Linked DNA regions of Homo sapiens: regions 1 and 2 are each linked to region 3. The links are contacts of gene promoters, found by promoter capture Hi-C in human tissues and cell types (Jung and others, 2019). All regions are on one chromosome and are shown on one strand. Each heading gives the region's core, a stretch centred on a gene start or on the middle of the fragment in contact. The rest is flanking DNA. Distances are from core to core; before and after follow the strand shown. Region 1 overlaps ARHGAP26 (Rho GTPase activating protein 26). Region 2 overlaps FGF1 (fibroblast growth factor 1). Region 3 holds the start of SPRY4 (sprouty RTK signaling antagonist 4).

The links. Contacts are between HindIII fragments. The study calls those that stand out against the background at their distance.
Region 1: a fragment that was not itself captured here is called in contact with the fragment with the promoter of SPRY4 in region 3 in 1 of the 25 tissues and cell types used here (H1 embryonic stem cells).
Region 2: a fragment that was not itself captured here is called in contact with the fragment with the promoter of SPRY4 in region 3 in 1 of the 25 tissues and cell types used here (IMR-90 fibroblasts).

The regions. Positions count from the first base shown.
Region 1 is chr5:142,779,257-142,783,756 of GRCh38, forward strand. The region is part of intron 1 of ARHGAP26 (Rho GTPase activating protein 26); the gene reads left to right. Among named protein-coding and RNA genes, the nearest start is that of ARHGAP26, 11 kb to the left of the region's middle. The HindIII fragment of the contact is 8,142 bases long and covers 1-4,500 here.
Region 2 is chr5:142,665,386-142,669,718 of GRCh38, forward strand. The region is part of intron 1 of FGF1 (fibroblast growth factor 1); the gene reads right to left. Among named protein-coding and RNA genes, the nearest start is that of FGF1, 19 kb to the right of the region's middle. RefSeq lists enhancers at 2,053-2,561, 2,562-3,069, 4,297-4,333. The HindIII fragment of the contact is 5,123 bases long and covers 360-4,333 here.
Region 3 is chr5:142,323,468-142,327,875 of GRCh38, forward strand. SPRY4 (sprouty RTK signaling antagonist 4) reads right to left here and starts at 1,554. Exons shown (of 2, transcript NM_001127496.3): 1 at 1,377-1,554. SPRY4-AS1 (SPRY4 antisense RNA 1) reads left to right here and starts at 1,826. Exons shown (of 4, transcript NR_120664.1): 1 at 1,826-1,903. RefSeq lists enhancers at 1-516, 517-1,479, 961-1,020. The HindIII fragment of the contact is 10,639 bases long and covers 1-4,408 here.

The DNA of each region.
Region 1 (4,500 bases), core at 1,180-3,679, 460 kb after region 3:
AAATGGTAAGGAAAACAGCTTGGCAGTGTGGGCCACGAGCTGTCATGGCATGTTTGTGTCTGGCTCATTTCACCTTGATTGGAAGGCACAGAATGCTGCCCTGGGTAAGCTGGAGACTGGGCAGTTTCCTGCTATATTTAGAAAGAGGAGATTCCTGGGGTTAGGGTGGTGTGTGTGTGTGTGTGTGTGTTTTCTTTGCCAGATAGACAAAGGTTTGAGGGGTTTGTGAATTCCACACCAAACTGTTAACTAGCTGGTTTCTCTGGGCCAAGCCAGTAGCTACTCTTTGACTCTTGCTGCTGCCACACAGCAAAAGCTCAAAAAACTCCTATTTTATATGGTTTGAAAAGATACCGCTGGTAAGTTTCAAAACTCATCTGATCTTGCTGTCACATCTGCTTTTAAGTTTACTGCAGGCTAATTTGAACACTTTGAAAATATGAACTGCCTCCTCCTCTGAGACTTCAGATAGATCTCCAAGCTGACTGAGTTGAACTTTGGCTGTTTCTGTGCCAAGGAGACTGTCAAACAGATAGGACCAAAGCCTTAGCAAATTCCTGACTGCGTATCTCGTTATCACACTTGTGGGTCAGGGGTAGACAATGAATATTAGTCGAACAAATAAAATAAGGCATTTTTACTTTAACTCATAGCTATGTTTCTTTTTAAAAGGGTTGCCTAAATAGGTAATACCTATAAGTTGTTCATAATTCAAAAGAGACAAAAGAGAATGTGAATATCCCTCCAATGCTTCCTGTCTCCTGATCCCCACTTCTTCCTCTGGAGGCATTTTATTGGTTTCTTTGGTATTTTTCAGATGTAATTTATGCATGTGCCAACAAATACACATACACATTGTGCCATATGTGCTGTTTTACCCTTTGCTTTTAATATATTAGATATTATTCTACATTGGTACATAGAGAGCTCACTCATTGTTAGATTGCATTGTATTCTATTGTATGAATTAAATATAGTGTATGTAACCATTCCCCTAATAATAAACATTTAGATTATTTCCAACCTTTCACCATTGCAAGTAATGTTGTTGTGAACATCCTGGCACCTCTGGCATGAGGCACATGAGTGACAAATTCCTAGAAATGAAACTGCTGGACCAAAGGGTATGTACATTTTTCATTTTAATAAGTATTTCATAACAGTGTTTCTGAAAAGTTCTAAGTGAACTGAATTTGATAAACCATGATTTTAGAGTAGGAAGGAAACTCACCATTTTAGACAGTTTATTACAGAATGGTCTCTGTAAATAAAACAATACTTAGAATTTTCTCCATTTTCCCCTTTCCAGTTTGTGTGTATTGTTAATTCTGGGATTAAAAGCCACAGCAAAAATCATTCCCTAAACTGAGACAGCTGTACCTAGAAATCAGTTGAATGTAGGATCCCAGAGACCTTGTTTGTGTTCCTAGTGATGGTGCTGTTGAGTTTTTATCTTTGTGCGGTGCGTGTAACATTCAGGAGATTCGGCAGGTTTGTTGAAGGAGGGCAGTCTTCTGCCTTCTGTGACCGGAGACCGTGACTCTGGTCTAGGGGACACGTTGCCTATCATAGAAGCTTCCCGGTGGGCACTGGAATTCCTGGGAGCTGGTGAGGGAGTCGGGAGTTTTGCATGACATCTCTCTCTGGCAGCTTCTCCTGCAGAGCTTAGCACTTTTCCCTGATAGAGGACAGGATCATGCCACATGTCCTCTGCCATCTCTGTTCCAGCTCCTGTTGATGTAGAAGGCTACATTGGCCAGGTTCCTGGCATGAAGCAGGCACAGTCCTTGTCTCCTAGATGCTCACTGTTTTGAGAGGAGGCAGGGAAACAGGCAGCCCACAGCACAAAGGGGAGATTGCTAGCAGTTTAAAAGGGCCTCTGGGGGAGGGAGCAGAGGCCTGTGGGAAAGGCAACTGAAGGCTTATCGAGCCCAAGGGGGCAGTGTGGTCACTAATGATCAGTCATGTGAAGGGTACCTCTGTTATTTTTGCCCCACCTCACCACCCTTTATTTACTTTGAAAAAAGTCTACTCATTACAAAATACATTTATTTCAAAAAGGAGCTTTTGAACCTGCATTCAGAAATTGCAAGTTTGATATGGTTAACTTTTTTTTTCTAAATATCTTCAAATAATTATTAAATCATAATCATTACATTGAAAAGTATTTGTCATTGTATTGCCTAAAATAATCCCATATTTCACCAGTGTTATGAGAGTCATTCTCTTCTTAACACTGTCCCAAGGCAGAAGTATGTGAGAGAATGGACACCATCTGCCCATCACACCTGGGGGAAAAGGGAGGGGAGCAATGCACTCCTTAGGCTTGGGTGCAGGTGTCTGGGGCAGGAGGCTGTGTGCCAGGGAATACAGTCTGCTGAAAATCTGTTTTACTCAGTGGGATCACAATTTGAATATTCAAATAAACACTGATAAGTTATAGAGTGGAATGCAGAATTCATGGCTTTTTTTTGAGATGGAGTCTCTCTCTGTTGCCCAGGCTGGAGTGCAGTGGTATTATCTTGGCTCACTGCAACCTCCGCCTCCCGGGTTCAAGTGATTCTCCTGCCTCAGCCTCCTGAGTAGCTGGGACTACAGGTGCGTGCCACCATGCCCGGCTAATTTTTTGTATTTTTTTTTAGTAGAGATGGGGTTTCACCGTGTTACTCAGGATGGTCTCAATCTCCTGACTTCGTGATCTGCCCGCCTTGGCCTCCCAGAGTGCTGGGATTACAGGCATGAGCCACTGCGCCTGGCCGATTCATGGTGTTTTTGAGAGTAGATGATCAGGTGTGGATGAAGAGAACACATAGTCAGCAGCATAGTGCCTGAGGAAGGGATGACAGAGGAGTTAGGGGCATCTCCAGAGTTTCCTTCTTAGGCCTTGGGAGGATGGCTGAACTGCATACAGGAGAGGAATCGTGGTGTGTGATGGGGGATACAGAGTGAAGTAAGGTTTGTCCTTGCTGAGTTCCTGCAGGGCATGCAGGTGGAGACACCCACAAGGCTGTGGGAAGCACAAGTCTGGAACTCTGGAGGAAGATGAGGGCTACAGGTATAGGTTTGGCTCTCTCCAGGTGGTATTTGAGGCCCTGGGAGTGACTGAATCTATAAGAGTGAGACCCACGCAGGGGTCCTTAGCCTCTGCTGTCCATTGAAATCACCTGAGGAGCTCAGGACTCACCTTCAGAGATTCTGATATAATTTGGCTGGGTTGCAGTCTGGGCATGGGACATTTTAAAAACTCCCCAGGTGATTCTAATGTGCAGCAAGGGTGAAGAACGCCTGGCATGGAGTGAGAGAAGAGAGTGGAAGCTGAAACCATAGGGAGCATCCACATTTAGCAGGTGGGTAGCAGAGAGTTGGAGAGGCTTTGATGACTTGATGTTTCATCCTGGCCAGTTTAGGTGAGGACTGTTTGGAGGCCTTTGGATTTGACCTTTGGAGATGAAACTGGAGAAAACAGCATAAGTGCAAGGGAGGATAATAAATATCTATTATACCTTACAATATTATTGTGAGGAGCAGCTGAGATAATTGTAGATATTATGCTTAGCAGTGTAAGCAGGCCTGTGGTAAGTGACCTGTTATTGGAATCTGCCTTTAGAGTGTCCTTGTAAGATAGTGGTTCTTAAAAGTGAAGGTGTACAAGAATTCCCCTAACTGCAGATTCTCTGGCTTTACCCAAGGAAATGCTGATGCATGAGCTCTAGGCAGGTCTGGAAACCCGAATTTCCTATACCCCCGCCCCCACTCCCTTCCATCTCACCCCAAGTGATTTGCATGGTGGGAGTCCTTGGACCACACATTAGGTCTAAATAGGTCAGCAGAGATTCTGCATAAATCTGGTCCCCAAATCCTGTTCTTCCTTAATGTGCACAGCTGTGCTCTCCAGCCTCGTGGGCACATCTCAGATATCTGGAGGGTGTTTGCATTACTGCAGGCCTAGGAATGATGCAGGAGGGTTTCAGAAGCGTAAAAGTTCTAGCAGCTTGAGAACATGTCAGCCAGTGTGGCTCCACGCCTGGGATCCAGTTGTTCCGTGAGCTTGGCCTGTGAGCGGGAACCCTTCAGCAGCATTGCCAGCGGATGTGGGGGAGCTCCTGAAAGGAAACTTTTGCTCCTGGGCAATCACAGGGAAACTGTATTCCCACAGTGAGTCTTGGGTGCTCTTGTCAGGGTTAAAGTCATTTGGGGTCAGAGCCTGTAATTATGTTTCACATTTTTTTTTTCTTTAAAAACATTCAGGAAGCATAATGAGCTGGTTGAGCTGTTGCACAGCAAGGGGAACTCAGGATCTGGGGAGAGGAGGAGAGAGACTGGGTGATGGCTCTGGAGCTGAGATGCCTTAAACCCAGAGAGAGCTGATCTCCCCCTTCTACCTGGAGGTGCCCCTGGGCAACTCATTTCTGGCAAATACTGCTGTCTCTGTTCTGATCTCAGCTGGTTCTCACCCTTTTAAAGCAGGGCTGGATGACTGGGCAGACCACAGCTGCTGCT
Region 2 (4,333 bases), core at 1,671-4,170, 340 kb after region 3:
AACATTACTTTAGAGCTGTTTACCTTGGAAAAAGTACTGGCTCACTCCTCCTTGGAAAAGGTCGCCACAGGTTCTGGCTGGGATTTTCTCAAGCAATGAATGACCCAGGACCTCCCCCCAACAAGGCTTCTCTGTCTCTTCATCTTCCTGTCTCCTCTCCCACCCTGGCTCACTGCATCCAGCTAGCTGCCTCTGTCCTCCCGGAATTCCCTCAACACTCAGTGACCTCAATATGTTCTCCTCAAAGCCTCTCATCTCTACCCATTGAGTCCTGTCTACCAATAAAGCTTCATGCTTTTAACGTTAATAGCTCACACACTTAGAGCCTCCCCATATCTTCAGAAACCCATGGTCCTTCCCACTGAAGGTTCTACAGTGATCCTAAGAGGATCACAGGTACGTAGCTCTCCTCTTCAAGCACAACCAATAAGCTTTTCCTTTGGGGAGGCTGGAGAGGCCCACAGGTAGTCAAGCGTTGCCTGTTCTTTTCTCGATCCCCAGTCTTTCTCATCATCTCATGAGCACTCAAGATGGAGCTAATGACTTCCCCCTAGGTTGGCTCTCTGGCAAACCCTTCTTTTTTCAAGGTGAGACCCCCTGCTCCTACAGCCTGCCTTTGATAACTGGCCTGCTCCACCACCCAGGGTCAGGAAAACCCAGACTTTTGCCTGCCACTTTGACTGCCAGTGGAATTGCATCATAACACAAGCTACTCTAGTATGGCACTTGCTGAAAAGTTCTCAGACTTGATTGAACTTTACCCAGTGCTCACCCTTAAGGTCTTGTTATATTAGGGTGAAATCTGTATCAGCATCATGGCCCTCGCGAAAAAGGACTTTTCCCTGGTTTCATAACCCCACCAGAATGACTCTAATGGTCTAAGGAGCATGTAATACACACACACACACACACACACACACACACACACACACACAATCTTAGCTTTTTAAAACTTGTTTCTGCTCCTTTAAATTTCTTAAAGACATGATACAATGTACTGGATAGGATGGGGTGTAAGATTTCATGAAATCCAGCAGCAGTGTGGTGTCGTTGAGTCAGAGTCTAGAAAGCACAGTGTGTTAGACAAGAATCCCAACATTTACTTATTCATCAGTCTGTCCATTCACCAGTCTGTGTATCCTCTGACATGTTCCCCACAAAAAAAACCGTAGCATTTCAGCCAGGATATGGAGGACAAAGTGGCATATAAAGATGTCTACATTATAACAAGAGAAGCCAAACTCAAGCCAAGTAAAGAAATGGAGCAAGAGGCCTGGTATACCAGTTCACGCCTACAATCCCAGTACTTTGGGAGGCCAAGGCAGGAGGATCACTGAAAGCCAGGATTTTGAGAGCAGCCTGGGCAACACGGCAACACTTTATCTCTACATTTTTTTTTTAATTAGGCAGGTGTGTTGGTGAGTGCTTATAGTCTCAGCTACTCAGGAGGCTGAGGTGGGAAGATCTCTTGAGCCCAGAAGTTTGAGGCTGCAGTGAGCTGTGATAGTGCCACTGCAGTGAGGCCTTGTCTCAAAAAACAAAAACAAAAACAAAAACAAAAATGAAGAAAGAAAGAGACAGAAAAAAAAAAGAAAGAAAGAAAAACAGAAAAGAAGCCGGGCACAGTGGCTCACACCTGTAATCCCAGCACTTTGGGAGGCCAAGGCAGGCGCATCACAAGTTCAGGAGTTCGAGATCAGCCTGGCCAATATGGTAAAACCCCGTCTCTACTAAAAATACAAAAATTAGCTGGGCAACGGTGGTGACGGGAGCCTTTAGTCCCAGCTACTCGGAAGGCTGAGGCAGGAGAATTGCTTGAACCTGGGAGACAGAGGTTGCAGTGAGCTGAGATCATGCCACTGTACTCCAGCCTGGGCAACAGAGCGAGACTCGGTCTCAAGAAAAAAGAGAAAGAAACAGGCCGGGCGCGGTGGCTCACGCCTGTAATCCCAGCACTTTGGGAGGCCGAGGTGGGCGGGTCATGAGGTCAGGAGATCGAGACCATCCTGGCTAACTCGGTGAAACCCCGTCTCTACTAAAAATACAAAAAATTAGCTGGGCGCGGTGGCGGGCGCCTGTAGTCCCAGCTACTTGGGAGGCTGAGGCAGGAGAAAGGTGTGAACCTGGGAGGCGGAGCTTGCAGTGAGCTGAGATCGGGCCACTGCACTCCAGCCTGGGGGACAGAGCGAGACTCCGTCTCAAAAAAAAAAAAAAAAAAAGAAAGAAATACAGCAAGGAAAAATCGCCGGCTTTTAGTCCCTCGCAGGCTGATGGGGAGAGAGAAAGGGAAGATGACAGGAGCGGCTGTCCTCCCACTACCAAATGTCCCATGCTAAATATGCTGAAGGCCTCGGCGGGCTCTGAAAATTCCGAACTCTGGACTCTGTTCCTCCAGGCTCCCTGGGGCTACTTCCAGCCTCATCCACATGCTGTCTTGTTCATGCCCTGGAAAGGAATGGAGGAAGCGCCCTGGCTAGCCTGACGGTGACTGTCTTCCCTTTCTCAACCTTCCCATCCTGACTGTCCCCTCTGGCCTCGCTCCCACTGACTTGGGATGCCACAGCGGTCTTGCAGTCCAAGAGCCTTCCTGCCCGCCAGCCCACCCCTGCTCACAAAGGCAGACCTGTCTGGAGCTGAGCAGGCAGGCCCCTGGGGGAGGGCCTGGGCTCCACGCCACTCCCTTTCTTTAAGAAAAGGGACAGGTTCAGTCCAGTGAGGGAGGGAGAAGGAATTTCCCTTGTTAAATGTCTCCTCCCAGGCTCAGGCAGAGGCCATGGTAGCTGGGTGCAAGGAAAGTTCTTTGCTTCAGGCACCTGGTCCAACAGGGCTGTGTGACTTGGCACATCACCATCCAAATTAAATCAGACTCAATCAATTTGCATTCAACATACTGTCATCTAATCCTTTGCACAGTCAAAAACGTTTAGTTTCCCTTTGAAAACTGTGACTTCCATTTCCTAGGTAAAAGGTGTAGGAGAAAATGTGGTCGCTAAAGCTCCCGCATTCGTGATGTTTATGTGACCGTGACTTGTCACATGACCTTGGGGAGGCTGCTCTTGTCTTCACTGTCCCATCCTCTTGACACCCCTCCCTGCCCCGGCCCCAGTAAGGACTTATATACAAGGAACTCACCCAGACACAGTTAGGTAATAAAGGTGAAGTCATGGTCAAGGGCATGGGTTTTGAAGTGAAGCTTCCTGAACTTAAGTCCAGAAAGTCAATTCATCTCTCTGAGCTTCCTTTATAAAAGGAGGCCAGTGATATACCTACCTCACGTGTTTGTCAAAAGGTTGCAACAAGATAGTGCAAGGGAAGCACCTAGCACATTGCCTCATATAAATAAAATATGCATTCTAACATCTCATAATTTTAGCTATTATTTTTGTTGTGATTATTCAGGATGAATGAGATAAGCTTCCTGTCCTTGAAAGAAGGTGAGAAGCTAAGTCATAAATACCATGACAAGCTATGATAAGTGCTGTGAAGGTTGTGCCAAGGGCTGGGGGGATGGATGGAGGGCTGAAGAGGAAGGGGTCAGGAGGACTTTCTGGAAGATGTGGCATCTCAGCAGGAAGGACAAACAGGTTTTACATATGTGGGCATGGAATAAAGGAATCACTTGAACAGAGGCCCAGGGGTGGGCAAGTAGAGGGCATCTTCGCCCAGCATGCATGGCTGATGCCGCTGAGCGGGGGGTTTTCAGGGACACACAGGGTTAGTGCAAGCTAGCTTGGAGTCAGATCATAGAGGACCTTGAATGATGCTGTTCCAAAGCATTTAGACTTTTTTCTGCAAGCAAATGAAAGTGGAGCCAGTGGAGACTTTGGAGAAGGGAATTTGGAAATTCTTCTGGAAAATTGTTGGTTACTGGTAGGGGGCTGGGCAGAGCAGAGGCCACGGGGCACAGTATCCTCTATTTCCATCTCTGAAAAGCTCATCAGCCCTCAAGTCTTCTTGACTAGACTACAAGCCAGTCGAGGACAGAAGCATGAGCTTCCTTCTCACGATTATGTCCCCAGCACAGCCCCTGGGGCTCAATAAATGGCTGTTGAATTGAAATAGACAAAAGATCCTAAACTTGAGCCATGAGAGTGGAAGGGAGAGATGGCTCCAAAGACACTCCAGGAGAAGAATGAAGAGGATTCTGCAAAGGAGTAATCAGAGGTGACTCGGGCATAGAGGGACCGGAAGGATGAATGGAGAGGCTATTTACTGAGAGAATGGACGCAGCCAGGAGCAGCCCATCTGGCAGGACGACTGCTGCACTCGCTGTGGGGCGTGTCGCGGCTGAGGTGAACAGAGTCATCCATCTGCTGACTGGCAGGCAGTGGAC
Region 3 (4,408 bases), core at 304-2,803:
TTGCTGCGCCAGAAGGCGGCCTCCTGCCCTCACAGAGGCCTTGGCAATATGGATGCCCCTCCAGCAGCTGGTGAAAGAGGCAGCCAGCAGCTCCCTACTCTGCCTACCATCTAGCCCCTCCAGCCCATTTCGCCTCTCTTGCCCATCCTTCAGCCCTATAAGCCACGCAACCATTTTCTGTCTCCCCTGCCTCTCCTGCCCACAACCCCCTGCCCCCAATCAAGGAGAATTGAGAAACCGTCTTCTTGCACAAGAGCAGCTACTGTCTAAATGCTTTTTGATCGTCTGCATGGAGGGGGAACTGGGCACAGCCCTGGACCCAGTGATGGAGCCAAGCTCTAGCTGCCCTGGCTAGCCAAACCCGCCCTCACCCAGCTCACTGTCCCCGGGGTCTTGGCGATTCAGAATTTGTCAGAACATACCGTCTCTATCCTCTTCTCTGTGATGTCAAGCCTGGTACCACCAAGAAGGAAGGAGGGAAAGCAGGAGCCTTATCTCTCCTACATTCGCAACCTCTTCCTCCAGCTCCCACACGCCTGGTGTTATGTAAACGCACCTTCAACCCCCACCGCAGCCCTAGCGCGGCCTGGGGGCTCCGGGGCCTGGCACAGCTCGGTGCCCGAGGATAGGGAGGTACAGGGTGGCCGAGGAGCCTCAGGCCTTACAGAGGCCAGGCAAGAAAAAGTCAACTGCAAGGCAGTTGCATAGCATAAAATGCGGCAGCGGAGCAAAGGTCAGACGGCGAGGAACCGCCTCGCCAAGGAGAGGGAGTAGGAATGCCCAGTCCTGAGCCAGCCCCTCGCTGACCATCGAGGGAGAGGCAGAAGGGGAGGGAATTCAGTCCGTCACGGCTCCGAAGAGAAAGAAAAAATCTACGTCGAGCATAGGCCGCTACGGCGGGCTGGGAGATACACGGCAAAGCTGGCACCGTGGGCACCGAGCTGGGAGGTGGGCGAGCCGCCCAGAGCGAGGGCGCCCCCCGACCCAAACGGTGGCTCCTGACCAAGCCCAGAGACGCCCGTTCCAGCGTTCGAGGCGGATGGTGGCAGGAGAAGGAAAGAGGCCAGGCCAGAGGCAAACTCCCGGGACACGCACGGGGCTTCCCGAGTCTCAGAGGGCGGGGAAGCCGGGCTTGGCAATGCCCAGGGGTCGGAAACGGCGGTGCCAGGCTGTGAACACCCCCGGCGCCGTGCCGGCCGGGCCGAGGGCGTCAGGGAGCTGCGGCGCACCGCAGCGACTCAAGGAGGCGCAGGCTGAGGGAAGGAACACTGAGGCGCGCCTAGAAATAGCGCACCATTTGCCCCAGCCCAAGGGGGGAGTCGCGTCGCGGCTCAGAGAGGGGCAGTTTCAGATCTCCAAACCAGCCATGGACTTACTTTGAGGAGCTGCAGGGTCACAAGCATCGCCCCACGTCTGTGTAAATCCTGAAGCCGGGGCAGGTTAGCCGCCGCTGTACTCGCAGACGCCGGTCGGAGGAACCGGCAAGGCTCCCTGCGCTCCACAGCGCCAGCTCCGCGCTGTCAGCTCAGCTCGCTACCTCCGCGGCGATGTTGCAACCACTGCCTGGGAAAATGGCTTTTTTATGAATGGGAGGGAAGGGAGCGCCAGTGCGCACGCGTGCCGTTCGCGATTCTATGAATGGGTGGGCACAACAGACCCTGAGCGCGCATGCGCTCCGCTCCTTTTTTTATGAATGGGGGGCGGGAAAAGATCTTAACCCGTGATTGCTGGGACTGGCTCAAGCTCCACCAGGAGCCGTCGTTCTTTTACAAAGAGGGGTGGAGGTTCCAGTGGAGGCTGTTGTTGCCTTTTTTTTTTTTTTTTTAATGAATGGAGGGCGGCGGCGACTGCTGCAGCTGGGCCAGCTGCGCGGGCTGCACCCCCTCCCAGCCTGCGAGAGGAGGTAAAGGCCACCTTCACGCCACTGCGGGCCTGGGCAGGAACCGTCAGTGTCGCTGGGGGGTGGGGGACGCTGCGGCCTCCGGATCCCGGGTTGAGAGCAGGGTGGTGGAGGGCACACCTAGATCTGGGGATCTCTGCCCCCCGCAGGCAGTCAAAAGGGGGGGCGGGAGGACCCCTACTGGGGGCCTTCTCTTGCTCTAGACCAGAGACGCCAGGCGGGAGGGGTCTTGAAGCTGCGTTTACCAAAAATTAGGAAAATGTCCATCATTCATATCAAAGGGTGGGGTGAGGATTGGTGAGTGAATCTGGTTCTTTTTCCTGAGGCTGAATCTCTCGTGAGTGCTGGCCGCCCCTCCCCCCATTTCTTGGGTGTAGACAGTGACTGGGCCCAGGCCTCTTCCGGCTCCAGTACCCCCCGGGGCGATTCTGGCAACTCAGCCAGAGGAAGCCTGGCCCTCGCCTCCCAGCGTTCCCCCCGCCCCCCGCCCCAGTGCAATGTCCGCAGTGCCCGGGCGTCTGCCCGCTCTCTGTCGCCCTAGCTAGGTGTCCTTTCTCTGTCCCAGTCGGTTTCCCAGCCCTCACAGGACGCTGGCCTGAGGAGCCTCGGTCCACCGAAGGCCCACGGCCCTTCGCTGTTGTAGGCGCCTTTCCCCAATATCCCCCACCTCTCACCGGCCTCCCCTCCGGGGAAGTGGGAGCGGCCGAGAACTGGCCAGGTGGATGGGTGGAGCCGGCTGCGCCGAGGATGCTGCCGGGGTGGCCTCAGGATTAAATAACAACGGGGCTCTTGAGCCGCAGAGGAAATGGAAATGGCTGGGGATCCTTTCTTCGCTGTTAATGATGGTGGCGTTGGGGGGCGGGGGTGAGGATCAGCTCAAGCCGGTGAAAAGAAAAGCCCCCGCCATTAGGCCTGACTCCAGGAAGGCGGGGAGCCCTCGCAGCAGGCCCTGCTCCTCCCTGGAACGGAGGAGCCTGTAGCCTCCGGGAAGTCCGGGGCGGGGGGTGGCTTTGATGCGTGGATAAGAGCAGAGTCTGGGCCAGGGCTTGGCCCTGAGTCCCTTGTAAGGTCTGTCTTGCCGCTGTTCTGGCCGCACGGGGAGATTGTGTGGCAGTCTTTTTCTTCCTACGCCACTATAGGATTGTGCTTGGCTGTTGTCAGAGGAACCAATGAAAGGCTCCCAGCCCAGGGCTGAGGTCTGGCCTAGGGCTGGGGCTGGGACTCTAGAGGCAGGCAGCCCAAGGTCACCGAGTCCTAGCCTAAAATGCCTTCTCACCATTCGGCTCACCCCTCCGTGTACTTACCCAGCTCCTGAGGGCAGAGCAGACTCTCCCCTAGGGAACCTCAGCCTTCCTTTCAGGGGCGAGACCTTTCTCTAAGACCAAGAGAACTCTTCGCCAGAAAAATGGGTACAGTTGTCCAGGACTTCCTTTTAAGGCTGTTGAAGTTCAGTATCGCCCTCTCTGTCAGCTGTAGAAACTGAGGCCAAGGGTCCTGCACCGGGTATATGGAAGAGCTGGTAAATTGTAGCACTTATTTTCTAGGTCTTTGCAACCTGGCTTTACTTTGCTACCAACCCTTCTCAGCATCACAGACCTAAAAACCTGTTTCTCGCATGTCATTTAAGCATTTTAAACAATGAAAGTTGAAGCAGTAATTTTCCAGCTGGTGCTCACCCATGGCCCTTGCTGAAACAGTCAGAAGGATGGGAATAAATAAATCTTAAATCTATGGCAGAAAAGGAGGATTGGAGGAGCCGCGGGGAGGGGGGTTGCTATCCTGTTTTCTTTATTAGAGAAACTCAGGAGACAGACAGGATTACATTTCATAGTCTTTCTCAGCTTCCCTGAAAGAGAATGCGAGGAGACCCCAGCCTGTGGTGGGGAGAAGGAGGAGCTCCCAGTCTTGAGCTGGGAGGGGCCTCTGATGCTTAAGTACAGCGAGATTCAGAGCGTCTAGAAGGGCTCTGGAGGTCATATTCTGGTTGTGCTTGGAACCTAAGCTGAGGAATGGTTTGGAGCAGCAGTTATGAAAAATTCATTCATTCATTCATTCATTCATTCACTCATTCACTCATTCATTGATCGATTCTGTAGTGGGGCCTGCCCTGACTCTGGAGACTCAGTGGTGAGGGACAGACAGCCCTCCCTGCCCTTGTGAAGCTCACAGTCTTTTGAAAAGACAGACAGACAGGCTGCAACATGAGGTTCTAAGTGCTAGGAGGGAAATGAGCTTTCTCTGGGGTATGTTGCTTGCCGGGGAGGTGGGGGATGGTGGAAGGAGCTGATTCTGATTTGGTCATCAGGGAATGTCTCTGAGAGGGCGGCTTCTAGTTGTGAGTTGAGACCCAAAGACTGAGAAGTGAATCTGAGGGAGGACTGGAGAAACATCTCAGGCAGAGGGAGCATGGGTGGAGGCCGTGTGTGGGAAAAGCCTGGCATATTAGAGGCACTGACAGAAGGCCTCTGTGGCCACAGCTTTATGAGCAAGTTTGAAGTGAGCCTGGTG